Regions from separate parts of the Homo sapiens genome. Here all the other regions are linked to region 1. The links are contacts of gene promoters, found by promoter capture Hi-C in human tissues and cell types (Jung and others, 2019). All regions are on one chromosome and are shown on one strand. Each heading gives the region's core, a stretch centred on a gene start or on the middle of the fragment in contact. The rest is flanking DNA. Distances are from core to core; before and after follow the strand shown. Region 1 holds the start of PPIL2 (peptidylprolyl isomerase like 2). Region 2 overlaps MAPK1 (mitogen-activated protein kinase 1). Region 3 holds the start of MAPK1 (mitogen-activated protein kinase 1). Region 4 overlaps HIC2 (HIC ZBTB transcriptional repressor 2).

Region 1 (3,434 bases), core at 471-2,970:
TAAGTAAGCCACTAACTACACAAGACTGGGGAAAGCAGCTTATAGATGACTGGGAAATTATATCACCCACAGAGAATGTTTATGGAAAAGAAACGTATGAGATCTGAGAGAAGGGAGGAGGGTCCAGAAAGGAGACTGGGAAAAGAAAGACCGCTGAAGTCGATGGAAAACAAAGAGCATGTGAAATCCCAGATACCAAAGAAGGGCTTCAGAAGGAGGGAGTGGTCAACAGTGGGACATACTGTTGAGAAGCCCAACAAAATGAGGACTGAGGCTGCCCAGACGCGGTGGCTCACGCCTGTAATCCCAGGACTTTGGGAGGCCGAGGCAGGTGGATCACCTGAGGTCAGGAGTTCGAGACCAGCCTGACCAACATGGAGAAACCCCTTCTCTACTAAAAATACAAAATTAGCTGGGCATGGTGGCGTATGCCTGTAATCCCAGCTACTCGGGAGGCTGAGGCAGGAAAATCTCTTGAAGCCGGGAAGCGGAGGTTGCGGTGAGCCAAGATCTCACCATTGCACTCTAGCTTGGGCAACAAGAGCGAAACTGCGTCTCAAAAAAAAAAAAAAAAAAAAATGAGGACTGAGGATTGAATACTATATTTAGCAACAAGAAGTCGCTGGGAACCTGAAAAGAGAGGCCGCTGAAGTCGAGAGAAAACAAAGAGCAGGTGAAATCCCAGATACCAAAGGAGGGCTTCAGAAAGAGGGAGTGGTCAACGGTGTGACATACTGTTGAGAAGCCCAACAGTTCTGGGGTCGAAATTCTGACTTGAGTGGTTTCAAGAGACTCAGAAAACAGCATGAAGCCACTAGTCTCTCACTTGTTCTTAAGAGAAACAACACGGCGGCAGCGGGAGGGGAACGTGGGACGTGGGGCACGGGGCACGGGTGGATTTTTAAATTTTATTTATTATTTTTGAGACAGCGTCTCGCTCTGTCGCCCAGGCTGGAGTGCAGTGACACGATCTCGGCTCACCGCAACCTCCGCCTCCCGGGTTCAAGCGATTCCCCTGCCTCAGCCTCCCAAATAGCTAGGATTACAGGCGCCCGTCACCACGCCCCGCTAATTTTTGTATTTTTAGTAGAGACGGGGTTTCACCGTATTAGCCAGGCTGGTCTTGAACTCCTGACCTCAGGTGATCCGCCCGCCTCGGCCTCCCAAAGTGCTGTGATTACAGGTGAGCCACTGCGCCCGACCTGGTTTGCTTTAAATTAGAAGGCTCTGCAGCACGTTTGCAGGCTGATAGGCATGAACCAGAACACAGCGAGACGTGAAGTACGGAAGAGGTAGAGACTACTCATTCAAGGGCGAAACTCGCGAACAGACGGGGGACGGTCCGGGCAGAACCAGAGTAAGGAAAACCGGGCTGCGCTCGAGCCCGCAGCTGACGTCATCGGAGCCGCGGCCCCGGGAGAGCGCGGCGGCCCGAGGGTCATTACCCTGACTGGAGACAGGGCGGCAGCTTCCGGGAGGAAGTGACCTTTGGGCTGTGCTCTGGGGAGTAGCTGAGAGGGAAGGCGAGCGGCGCGCAGTGCGGGACAGGCGGTTCACTGAGGCAGAGTGGAGCGCCGCTCCCGACTGCGGCTCAACTTACATTTTGTCCTTTTGGTGCTGTCGCTTCCCCATGGCGGAGCGGCGGCGGCGACTAGCGAGCACGAAAAAACAACGGCTGACAACTCAGACCATGGAGCCGCAGCCGAGTTCCGTGACCACTTCCGGGTTCCGCGGCGCGCCCCGGAAACGGGCGCCTGGCGTGCTGGGAATTGTGGTTCGCTAGCGCCAGGTGCTCATGCTCGGAAGGATCGCCTGCCCAGTATGGGGTCCTAGCTAGGTGTGCCATCTCCCGCAGGCGTCTTTTCGGGGCCGAGCTCCCTCAGCCTCGAAGCCCCATCTTCTTGAGGGGTCTGTCTGGACCGCCTTGTCTACCCCCCTAGCCACGGCTCAGGGCCATTCCCATACTGGGTTCTCAGGTCTTATTTATTTATTTTCGAGACAGGGTCTCGCTCTGTCGCCCAGGTTGGAGTGCAGTGGCACAATCACAGCTCACTACTGCCTCGACCTCCCAGGCTCAAGCGATTCTCCCACCTCAGCCTCCCGAGTAGCTACGGGCACGCACCACCACACCCGGCTAATTTGTTAATTTTTTGTAGAGACAGGCTCTTACAATGTTGCCCAGGCTGGTCTGGAGCTCTTGAGCTCAAGCAGTCCTCCCGCCTTGGCCTCCCAAAGTGCTGGGATTACAGGCCTGAGGCTTCGCGCCCGGCCAGCGCTCAGGTCTTTTTCAACGTCCTCCTAGAGCTTCAAGTCTCATGAGCCTCCACCCCATCCCTTCCCGCCTCCGTGGCAGATGCCTTCAAAGCCATGTACCACTCTCGTTCTACTCGCTCACTTCTCATTCTCTCTGCATATTCGGTCCCCACCGCCTCCAGGCCCCTCGGAGGCCCAGCAGCAGGTGGCCATCAAGCCTAGAGGTCCAAAGCCCTACCTGATCCCTTCCGTCTCTTCTGCCAGACCCTTCCCTTGGGTCAGATCAGTACCTTGGGCCCCTAGCTACACTCAGGCCCAGGGTAATCTTGCCTAGGCTCCTAATTTTAAATGCCATTTGTATCCCATGACTCCCAGTACTAAGTCACCAGCACTCCAGGTTCCTGATCTCCACTTGGGTAACCACTGATCTGAAATGTAACATGTCTGGATGGGCGTGGTGGCTCACGCCTGTAATCCCAGCACTTTGTGTGTGTGTGTGTGTGTGTGTGTGTGTGTGTGTTTAGTAGAGACGGGGTTTCACCATGTTAGCCAGGATGGTCTCGATCTCCTGACCTCCTGATTCGCCTGCCTTGGCCTTCCAAAGTTCCGGGATTACAGGCGTGAGCCACCACGCCCGGCCAATCCCAGCACTTTGAGAGGCTGAGGCAGGCGGATCACTTGAGGTCAGGAGTTCAAGACTAACCTGGCCAACATGGCAAAACCCCATCTCTACTAAAAATACAAAAAATTAGCCTGGTGTGGTGGCACACACCTGTAATTCCAGCTACTTGGGAGGCCGAGACAGTAGCTTGAACTGGGGAGGCAGAGGTTGCCGTGAGCCAAGATTAGGCCACTGCATCCCAGCCTGGGTGACAGAGTGACTCTGCCTAAAAAAATTAAATTAACATGTCTGGTCAAAGTAGAATTTTCTTTTTTTTTTTCTTTTTTTTTTTGACATGGAGTTTTGCTCTTGTTGCCCAGGCTGGAGTGCAATGGTGTGATCTTGGCTCACTGCAACCTCCGCCTCCCAGGTTCAAGCGATTCTCCTGCCTCAGTCTCCCAGGTAGCTGGGATTATTACAGGCATGCGCCACCACGCCTGGCTAATTTTGTATTTTTAGTAGAGAAGGGGTTTCTCCATGTTGGTCAGGCTGGTCTCGAACTCCCGACCTCAGGTGATCC
Region 2 (3,089 bases), core at 224-2,723, 140 kb before region 1:
ATTTTATTCAAAAGATAGCAGCAGAAAACTTAACGTCACTGACTTTAATACCTAATAAGGCATTCCAACTAAATAAGAAAACCCCAAATTCTTTACAGTCCTCAGAGTTCTGAAAATATGCAGCATTTACATATTTCTGTTTTAATGGGTGTTACAGGTAAACGAGGGAAATTTATGGATATCTTAGATGTGACGGAGCGATGTCGATTCAGTCTAAAAAAATGCACAGGAATTCAAGAAGACCTAAATAAATGGGAAGGCATCCCATGTCTGTGGATCATAAGACTTAATACTGTTAAGATGGCAGTATTCTCCAAATTGATTTGCAGATTTAGTGCAATCCCTATCAAAGCCCCCAGTTGTTTTTTTCTGTAGAAATTGACAGGCTGATCCCAAAATTCATATGGAAATTCATATGGAGAACTGATACACTTCCTGATTTCAAAACTTACTGCAAAACACAGTAATCAAGACAGTGTGCTACTGGCATAAGAATAGACATATAGGTCAGTGGAATAGAAGTGAGAGTCAGTAAATAAACCCGTGTATCTATGGTCAACTGATTTTTGGCAAGGATGCCAGGACCATTCACTGGGGAAAGAATAGTCTTTTCAGCAAATGAATCTGGGACAACTGAATAGCCACATACAAAAAGATGAAAAAATTAACTCAAAATGGCTGGGTGCAGTGGTTCGCGCCTGTAATCCCAGCACTTTGGGAGGCCAAGGCCTGTGGATTGCCTGAGCTCCGGAGCAAGACCAGCCTGGGCAACATGGCAAAACCCCATCTCTACCGAAAATACAAAAAAATTAATCTGGGCGTGGTGGCATGTGCCTGTGGTCCCAGCTACTCAGGAGGCTGAGTGGGAGGACTGCTTGAGCCTGGGAGGTGGAAATTGCAGTGAGCAGAGATTGCACCACTGCACTCCATCTGGGGTGACAGAGTGAGACCTTGTCTCAAAAGGAAAAAAAAATTCAAAATGGATTGAAGAACTCAATTAAAAGCTAAAACTTTAATACTCTTAGAAAACATAGAAGTAAATCTTTGCAATCTTATGTTAGGCAAAGCTTCTTAGACATGACACCAAAAGCACAAGCAACAAAAGAAAAAAGTAAGTGGATTCCATCAAGATTAGAAACTTGTGCTACAAAGCAAACCATCAAAAAAGTGAAAAGGCAAGCCACAGAATGAGAGAAGGTATTTGCAAATCATACATCTGATAAGGGACTTAAAACTAGAATATATGAAGAACTCTTATAACTCAATAATGAAAAGATAAATAGCCTAGTTTAAAAAATGGACAAAGGATCTGAATAGACATTTCTCTAAAGAAGATATACAGATGGCAATAAGCACATGGAATGATAGATGCTTGACATCATTAGTCAGTAGAAAAATGCAAATCAAAATTACATTGAAACAACTTCATGCTAACTAGGATGGCTGTAGTTAAAAAGTCAGATAATAAGTGTTGGTGAGGATTCCACTCCTTAGTGAAAATGAAAACATGCATCTATACAAAAACTTGAACACAAATCTTCATAGTGGTATTGTTCACTATAGCCAGTAAGTAGAAACAATCCAAATGTCCAGCTGATGATGAATAAATACAGTGTGGTGGATCCACACAGTAGAAGAGAAAGGAGTGAAGTACTGATAATGCTACAACATGGATGAATCTTGGAAACATGTCTGTGAAGGAAGGCAGCCACAGAAGACACATATTGTATGATTCTGTTTACGTGAAATGTCTAGAATAGGCAAATCCATAGAGACAAAAATTAGAATTAGTGGATTACTGATTGCCTAGGGCTAGAGGAGTTGGGAGAATAAAGAAGGAAGGAATACTAACTCACTGGAATTTCTTTTTGAGGTTATAAAAATATTTTCAAATTGGATGGTGGTAATGGTTAATTTCCACCATTATAATACTAAAACCATTGAGTTATACACTTTAAATGAGCAAATTGTATGGTGTGTGAATTATAGGTTAATAAAGCTGCTTAAGTACATATATATGTATAGCAATAATCATTTATTGGATTTCAGTTCAACAGACACTCCTATGAGAAGCCCTTTGAGATACGCCAGACAAGAGAGATGAGGGTCTGCCCTTGAAATCTGAAAACTGATAGATCAGAAATCTGGTAGACAGTAGGTGATTATAATGAGATGTTCTGTAACTGAGATGGAGAAAAAGATGGTGTACAAATGCAAAGGAGAGAGGTGGGCTAGCGCTGGCTGGGACTGGGAGGCAGCAGGAAGAAGGTGGTATCTGTGCCGGCCCTCGAGGTTGGGTAGCTTTTCTTGCGGGAGGCCAGTGGCTCTATTGGACATAGGGTATCATAGGCAGAGAGTACAGAAATAAAATAAGAAGGAAGGGACTACTACCGAAAGCACTGAGTCTTCCTCCCTGTGGCTGCAGCATTGGATGAGTAATAGGGAGTCATCGACACTAAGCTAAAAAGGTTGGTTGCAAGTAGATCGTGGGGAACCTTCTAGAACTGTGTGTAAAAAGCGGTGGGTTTTGTCACGGTGGGTGAACACGGTGGCCAATGTCCAGTGAGATGTAAAGGACAGCTTCCTTCATCAGATATTGTGTGGATTGGACTCTGTCCCCTCTTAGGATCCTTCTGATACAGGTTTATGTCTTTTCCACATGGGATGGAACCAGCTCCTTTACCTGGATCAGTGCAACCAAGAGTCAGGTGGGCACAAAACGAATAAAGCTATGTTTAGGATGGCTGTACTACTTCTTTGGCACTTAATGATTGTCTTGAAAATTTGCAGTGAATATTTTTATGTCTCCTCGTGTTTTTTTTTTCTTTTGGTTATCATCATAGCCCTGTTATGGCAGATTGCTTTTGTTTTTGGAGAGACATTCTCAATCAATATTTTAAGCATATAACATTTCTGGGAAGAATTGGCTCTTATTTTTGCTTGAAAGTGTTCATCTTTAAGAATAAAACAAATAGAACCAGACTACTCTCTCTGTTGTCTCTTCCCAGTTTATGGACTTGTCTTTAAGGCCATTCTGTTCACCTACTCACACTCACACACACGAGTTGTTGGCCGTGGCATAATTTAGG
Region 3 (3,570 bases), core at 1,071-3,570, 200 kb before region 1:
ATCCGCCCATCTCGGCCTCCCAAAGTGCTGGGATTACAAGCGTGAGCCACCGCACCCGGCCTCTTTTTTTTTTTTTTTTTTGAGACGGAGTCTCACTCTGTGGCCCAGGCTGGAGTGCAGTGGCGCGATCTCAGCTCACTGTAACCTCTGCCTCCCGAGTTCAAGCAATTCTCCTGCCTCAGCCTCCCGAGTAGCTGGGACTACAGGCACACCGGCAGGCCCAGCTAATTTTTTGTATCTTAGTAGAGACGGGGTTTCACCATGTTGCCCAGGCTGGTCCCCAGTTTCTGAGCTTGGGCAATCTGCCCTCCTCCGCCTCCCAAAGTGCTGGGATTACAGGCGTGAGCCACCGCGCCCGGCCGGTTATTGTGGTTTTAATTTCATGGTACTCCATTTATCTTGGCCTGTTTTTTAAAAAAATATGCAATGTCCTCTTTTGAGAATAAGAATTAGGTATTTTCTTTTTATTATTATTATTATACTTTAAGTTTTAGGGTACATGTGCACAATGTGCTGGTTAGTTACATATGTATACATGTGCCATGCTGGTGTGCTGCACCCATTAACTCAAGAATTAGGTATTTTCTAAAATTGGGTCCTGCTTCATGGGCTAAATATATTTTGAAGGAGTAAATTTTGGCTGGAGCAGTTTATTCCTTTTCTCATGTGTCACATCCTTTTTCCCCCACAGGATTTTTTGTTTGTTTGTTTCTCTGTTTTAGAGACAGGGTATTGCTGTGTTGCCCAGGCTAGTCTTGAATTCTTGGGCCCAAGTTGGGATTACAGGCGTGAGCCACCACACCAGCTTCCACCAGAGAGTTAAACAAACAAACAAACAAAAAACTTTGTTTATTCTCCTTTGAGATTGACTAATTAATCTTTGTTGATGTCTAGAAGTCAAGAGTTGATGGTTTTAAACTTGGAAGAGTTGAACAAAGAGGATATAGGGTCTGCCGCTCTTCCTTCTCCCTCCAAACATGGCAGGGGAAAAGGTTCAGAAGCAGTGCCTGGGTCATTGTCCGTCTCGTTGTCTTAGCTTTCCTTGGTATCCACCTGCTTCAGGACTCTAATTTTTATTTTTTCAACCTCTGTTGTTTGTGACTGTTTCTTAACCTGGTGTGTCTCTTTTTCTCTAAACCTCGATGTTTTGGTTTTAGTGACTCTATCTTTGCATTTCTATTTCATTACCTGCTCTGTCAGCATTTCTGCCTATCTGTACCAATCTCGGTCTGTCTCTGAACGCAAATGTATCTCTCATGTGTTTCGACCCACCACCCCCTAATCCCTTACTCTCTGCTTTGTCCTCCTGCCTCAGCCTCCCAAGTAGCTGGGATGACAGGCGCCCACCACTGCGCCCGGCTAATTTTTGTATTTTTAGTAGAGACAGGGTTTCGCCATGTTGGCCAGGCTGGTCTTGAACTCCTGACCTCGTGATCCGCCCGCCTCGGCCTCCCAAAGTGCTAGGATTACAGGCGTGAGCCACCTCGCCCGGACTTAATTTTTGTATTTTTAGTAGAGACCTGGTCTCAAACTCCTGACCTCAAGTGATCCGCCCGCCTCGGCCTCCCAAAGTGCTGGGATGATAGGCGTGAGACACCGCGCCCTCCCTTCTGCTTTGTACTTCTTCATCGTACTTATCACAACTTGAGCATTACACGTATTTGTCTGTCTCCTCTCTCTAAAAGGTAACTTCTATAAGGGTGGATCCCCAGGAACATGGAGTGTGCTCAACAAACATCTGAACTAACCTGATTGGCGTATCCTCTCAGTGTCTCCTTTTAGTCTCGACAATTGTGTTTCACACTTTCTCAGTATGCAAATATCTTTCTCGGTCTGGGTCATGCCTTTCGGTTTCTGCCCCAGTGCAGAGGCCTCTAAGTTTATCAGCGTGTGGACCACAGATTCGCAGAGGCCTGAGCTGCGGCGCTGCCGGGATATGGCGCGTCGTCGGGCCTCAAGCACAGCCCGGGGTCCCTCGCTGGCTCTGTTCGGACCCTGCTCGGTCGCTCGCCTGGGCCCCAGCCATCTCTCACTTCAGCCCATGAGTTCTGCCCCACGTCTGTCTCCCTGGGTGTCTTAAGAGACGCGACCCGCACCGACGCCCCCGCGAATGCACCGCGAATGCACGTGACCGCGCCTAGTGGCGCCCCCTCAGTCAACGCCGTCGCAGTGCCCCTCCCGAAGCCCGCCGCTTCCGCCGGCCCGCGCGGCCCCGCCCCCAGCCGCGAGGAACCAATCCGCATGCACACTTCTTGTCCCCGCCCCGGCACCCTCCTCGGCGCGCGCCCCTCCCTCCGCCCGCCCGCCGGCCCGCCCGTCAGTCTGGCAGGCAGGCAGGCAATCGGTCCGAGTGGCTGTCGGCTCTTCAGCTCTCCCGCTCGGCGTCTTCCTTCCTCCTCCCGGTCAGCGTCGGCGGCTGCACCGGCGGCGGCGCAGTCCCTGCGGGAGGGGCGACAAGAGCTGAGCGGCGGCCGCCGAGCGTCGAGCTCAGCGCGGCGGAGGCGGCGGCGGCCCGGCAGCCAACATGGCGGCGGCGGCGGCGGCGGGCGCGGGCCCGGAGATGGTCCGCGGGCAGGTGTTCGACGTGGGGCCGCGCTACACCAACCTCTCGTACATCGGCGAGGGCGCCTACGGCATGGTGTGGTGAGTGTCCGCGACCGGCCACGCCCGGCCCCCCCACCGCCCGGGGCCGCAGCGGACGCAGCCTCGGCCTCGCCCGCGCCTCGGCCTCAGGCGCCGCGGCGACCTCGAACCCGGACTTCACCGCGGTCCGCGCGCCAGGGCTCGGGCGCGGCCCCGGGCCGGTTGAGGTTTAGGTGTTGTTGCTCGCGGTTCCCGGGCCTTCGGTCGCTCGGGAAGGGGCTCAGGGAGTGGCGCGGGGGGCGTAGGCCGGTACTAGTGGACCCTTGGCCCCGGGCGCAGCGCGGCCTTTAAAGTCTGGACCCTCGGGAAGGCAACGGAAGGGTCCCCACCCCTCAATTTGCTAGTATCATGGCCTTCTTTTGGACTTTCGATTGTAAAACTGTGAATTCCATCAGATGCTTGTCGGTGTTGGCGGCGGTGGCTGCTGAGGTCCTGAAAGCGTTTTGCCTCCGCGTGTGTGCAGAACACCGAAATAATCGTTTTTCTCTCTTCGCCTCTGTTTGCAGCCAACGGCTTTCATTAAATATCCTCAGCGGTGCTAATGGTGGTCTCCGCGCAGGCTTTCTAAAATGGATTACTGACGCCAGTGTTGGTGGCATATTTCCGTCTTGAAGTTTTTACTTCTAAGTGGATTTTAATATCGTACTGCTGGCGTTTCAGGAAGGATAAACTAACATTACTCTCTTGATTTGTTAAAGATCCGTTTAGAGTTGGGCCTAATTTGACTTTTTTTTTAGCCCCCAAGTGAGCTCTTTTACCAGCATAAATGCTCCCAGATGTTTTAGCCCAATTGCTATGGACTCCTGTTAATGATTTAGTGGTCATTATGTATGCAGCCTTAATGGAGTTCTTGCAGAATCACACGTAGACTCCCTCATCTTGATTCAGGTCCCTTAGAAAAGTGAAATGATAGTGACGGTTTTTTTT
Region 4 (3,347 bases), core at 618-3,117, 220 kb after region 1:
ATCTGCACCCCCAGCACCTGTTCCCTGCAGAACCAGGGCTGCACGCGCCCGCACAGACACAAGCACACGTGCACACACACAGACACGGCCAGCGGGGTGAGGCCTGCTCCCGACACCACCCTGGCCGTGGCCAGCGTCCCACTGCCCTTTCTCCAAGCCGCCTGCAACAAAGGGACCAGGTCCCAGCGAGACCCACGTGACCCAGCCCACAGGCCCTGCGGTGGCCCCCGCGGGGAGCTGGGGGCCTGGGTGGGATGGGGAGGTAGACGGGCTGGGACCCCTGGCTTCCCTCCTCTCGGCTCTGCTTGGTACGGACTGTCCATTAAAGCTCTGGGTGTGGGCAGTGGGGGCCAGAGGGGCCACCCGGAGCCTCCACTGGACCCAGGGTCTTGCCCCTGCTGCTGCATCACCTCGCTTCTCCTTCCATGGGTTCCCGGGGAGCAAGGTGGCAGAGGGCGCCCGCGGGTCTTTGGCTTCTAGGAGGGGGAGGTGTGCATGCGCAGGTGGCTGATGAGGTTGCGCTGCTGGGTGAACTTGCCCCCGCACAGCTGGCACTCGTAAGGTTTCTCGCCCGAGTGCACACGCATGTGCTCCGTGAGGCGGTACTGACGGGTGAAGCGCATGCCACACTCATCGCAGGCGAAGGGCTTCAGGCCCAGGTGGCTCCGCATGTGACGCGTCATGGTGCCGCGCTGCGTGAACATTTTGCCACAGATGTTGCAGGGGAAGGGCCGTGTCAGCCAGTGCGTCTTCTCGTGCTGCCGCAGCGTGGCTGGGTCCTTGTAGGTCTTCTCGCAGACCGAACACTTGAAGGGCCGGGGCTCAGCCGTGTAGGCCGCACTGGGTGCTGACAGGTCCTCGGCCTCCTCCTCGGCACCCCCACTGCCTGTCTCGTAGGCCCCCTCTTCCTTGATGAACAGCTCTTCCTCCGTGTGAGTCTCCACGTGCGCATTGAGCTGCTCAGAGCTGGGGAAGCCCTTGGCGCAGGGAATGCACACATACAAGTTGTCCCCGTAGGACACCGTCTCGTAGCCCTCCTGCCGGTACATGTAGTGGGCGCTGGCATGGCCGCTGCCCCCCTCGCTCCCGCTCTGCGCACTGTCTTCACTTGCATCCTTGCCGTTCTCCTCCTCCTCCTTGCAGGGGTAGGGGGGCTCCCCATAGGGCCCGCTAGGGCCAGCCCCACTAGCCAGGATGCCATTGGGAACCCTGTCCCCGACCCCCTCACCCTCCTCTCCCGGGCAGGGACCCTTGGGCCCTGCTTCTCTCCGCTCAAAGGGGGAGCCAGCCACAGGCTCCTTCTTGCCCCACTCCTTCTTCCGAGTGGAGTGCCGGAGGCTCTTCCGAGGCTGCCCACCAGGCGCCTCCAGCAGGCTCAGGTGGTTGTCCTCGGCCCCCTCCAGATCCATGGGCTCATCAGGGGTGCCCCCCAGCTCAGAATAAGAGGCACTGTTGGCAACGGGAGGAGCAGAGGCCGCAGGGGGCGAGCCATGTTGGCTGTCGCTCAGCTGGGCTGCGTCATCGGGAGTGAGGTGGGGACCTGGGGTGGCAGGGGGCAAGGGTGGGCTTTTCTTGGACAGGTCCAAGCCCAGCTCCTGCTCGCAGCCCCCGCTGCTCCCGTTGGTGCTGCTGCTGCAGCCCCCCAGACCCGCCTCCCCGCCAGCTGGGCAGACAGCCCGGCCCAGACCTTGCACGCTATCCTGGTTAGAGCCACCAAGAAAGAGTTCATCGTCTGAGCCTTTGGCTTGGGGGAGCTCCTGGGGGGCGTGGGCCCCCTTGCGCCCATCCACGAGCCCCTGATACCGAGCTTGGATGACAGAGGCCGTGGACAGCCGCTGGCTGCGGGGGGGCCGCCCCATGCCAGTGGACCCCGCCCTCCCAGAGCCAAAGGGCTTGCCGGCTCGCTTGAGTTTGCGGCGGCAGAGGGCTGCCAACTCGGGCAGCTGGAGGTAGCTGGCGGCAGTGAGGAGGGTGCTGAAGTTGGGCTCGGCTGGCTGGTCGCTGGGCAGCAGCTTGCCTGTGTAGATGAAGTCCAAGATCTGCTGGAACACTGTGGAGCTGACCATGTCTGTGTCCAGGTTGATGAGGTTGTCGTGCAGGACCAGGGACTTGAAATAGATGCTGCTGGCGGCTAGGACGTTCTTGTGGGCCCGGAAGATGGAGTTCTCCACCATGATGATGACGTCACACAGGAAGCCCTTGGTCCTCTGCTGGTTCAGCTGCAGCAGGAGCTGCTTCGAGTGGCTGGGCAGCTCCATGTCGGGCCCCATGTCCCCGCGCCCTGCCCACGCGCACCACCTGTGGGCAAGAACAGGCACGCATGCGTCAGATGACTGGCACACTCGGACCAGGGCTCTGGGGCAGGGTGGGGCTCGACGAGGCAAAGGGCCTCAGAACTGACCCCACATAGGGCAGGAGCCCCTGCGGCACAGTACACGGCACATAAGCCCACAATGCCCACCACATGCAGGCGCAGTACACGTGTCACCTCACTGAGGACTCAAACTGAGAAGGGACAGAGGCCCCTGCCCCATTTGCACTAATGAGAAAATGGAGGTGGAGGGTGATGAGGGGACAAATAGAGAAACTGGGATTTGCATTTGGTTTCACAGCCCGGGCTACTGTCTCTACACTAAATGAAGTCAACCCTCAGGGACCAGAAGGGGACCCAAAAATGACCAGATGGCTTTAAACTTCGGGAAGCAGAGGACTCCGTGAGAGGAGCTTGTCTTGAAAGCTGGCAAAAATCCCCCAAAACTAAATGGTGGTTCCTTTTGAAATACGGCAGGGCCCAAATCAAACTGCCAGCAGTCATGTTGCTGCCTCCCAGATGCTGCAGTCAGCCTGCAGCCAGCCCTGCCTCTCCCCAAGGCCCTGGGCTGCCTCGCACTCTGGGCGGGCGCCAAGTGCTGCCCCAGCCTGGGCTTCCAGCTGCCAAGGAGGAAAGGTAGCTTAGGCCAAGCACCTGGCACCACCTGAACCCTCCGTCCTCTCTAGGAAGGGCAGCACCATCTGGGCCTAGGAAAGGTGGACAGCTGGCCTCCATCACACAGAATGGCACAGGCACTAACTGAGATCAGTAAGCAAGAAGCACACTGACGCCGCTGGTCTCTGCAGGAACTCTGACGGCCCAGGTGTGTTCCTGCTTATGCAGCAGCAAGACATGGGGTTCTGAGCGGGTGCTCCTCGCCACGCTTCCCATCCCCACTGAGCAGCCTCCTCTGCCATGGACCAGGCACCCCACAGTGGGAGTACAAGGGCAGGGCAAATGGGTGCACAGTGGGCACCAGATAGACGCCGGGGGGAGGAGGGAAATGTCCCTCCAAGGGCGGAGGCAAGGACTGTGG

Evidence for each region. Contacts are between HindIII fragments. The study calls those that stand out against the background at their distance.
Region 2: a contact is called between a fragment that was not itself captured here and the fragment with the promoter of PPIL2 in region 1, in 1 of the 25 tissues and cell types used here (dorsolateral prefrontal cortex).
Region 3: a contact is called between the fragment with the promoter of MAPK1 here and the fragment with the promoter of PPIL2 in region 1, in 2 of the 25 tissues and cell types used here (IMR-90 fibroblasts and psoas muscle).
Region 4: a fragment that was not itself captured here is called in contact with the fragment with the promoter of PPIL2 in region 1 in 3 of the 25 tissues and cell types used here (H1 embryonic stem cells, IMR-90 fibroblasts and dorsolateral prefrontal cortex).

Annotation. Positions count from the first base shown.
Region 1 is chr22:21,664,298-21,667,731 of GRCh38, reverse strand. PPIL2 (peptidylprolyl isomerase like 2) reads right to left here and starts at 1,720. Exons shown (of 20, transcript NM_014337.4): 1 at 1,601-1,720. The coding sequence starts at 1,632. RefSeq lists enhancers at 1,284-1,333, 1,404-1,643, 878-1,788. The HindIII fragment of the contact is 22,549 bases long and covers 1-3,434 here.
Region 2 is chr22:21,801,648-21,804,736 of GRCh38, reverse strand. The region is part of intron 3 of MAPK1 (mitogen-activated protein kinase 1); the gene reads left to right. Among named protein-coding and RNA genes, the nearest start is that of MAPK1, 64 kb to the left of the region's middle. The HindIII fragment of the contact is 6,513 bases long and covers 1-3,089 here.
Region 3 is chr22:21,866,395-21,869,964 of GRCh38, reverse strand. It overlaps MAPK1 (mitogen-activated protein kinase 1), which reads left to right and starts at 2,320. Exons shown (of 9, transcript NM_002745.5): 1 at 2,320-2,643. The coding sequence starts at 2,525. RefSeq lists a silencer at 2,150-2,389. The HindIII fragment of the contact is 55,514 bases long and covers 1-3,570 here.
Region 4 is chr22:21,443,873-21,447,219 of GRCh38, reverse strand. It overlaps HIC2 (HIC ZBTB transcriptional repressor 2), which reads right to left. Exons shown (of 3, transcript NM_015094.3): 3 at 1-2,298. The coding sequence ends at 477. Among named protein-coding and RNA genes, the nearest start is that of TMEM191C, 22 kb to the left of the region's middle. The HindIII fragment of the contact is 7,132 bases long and covers 1-3,347 here.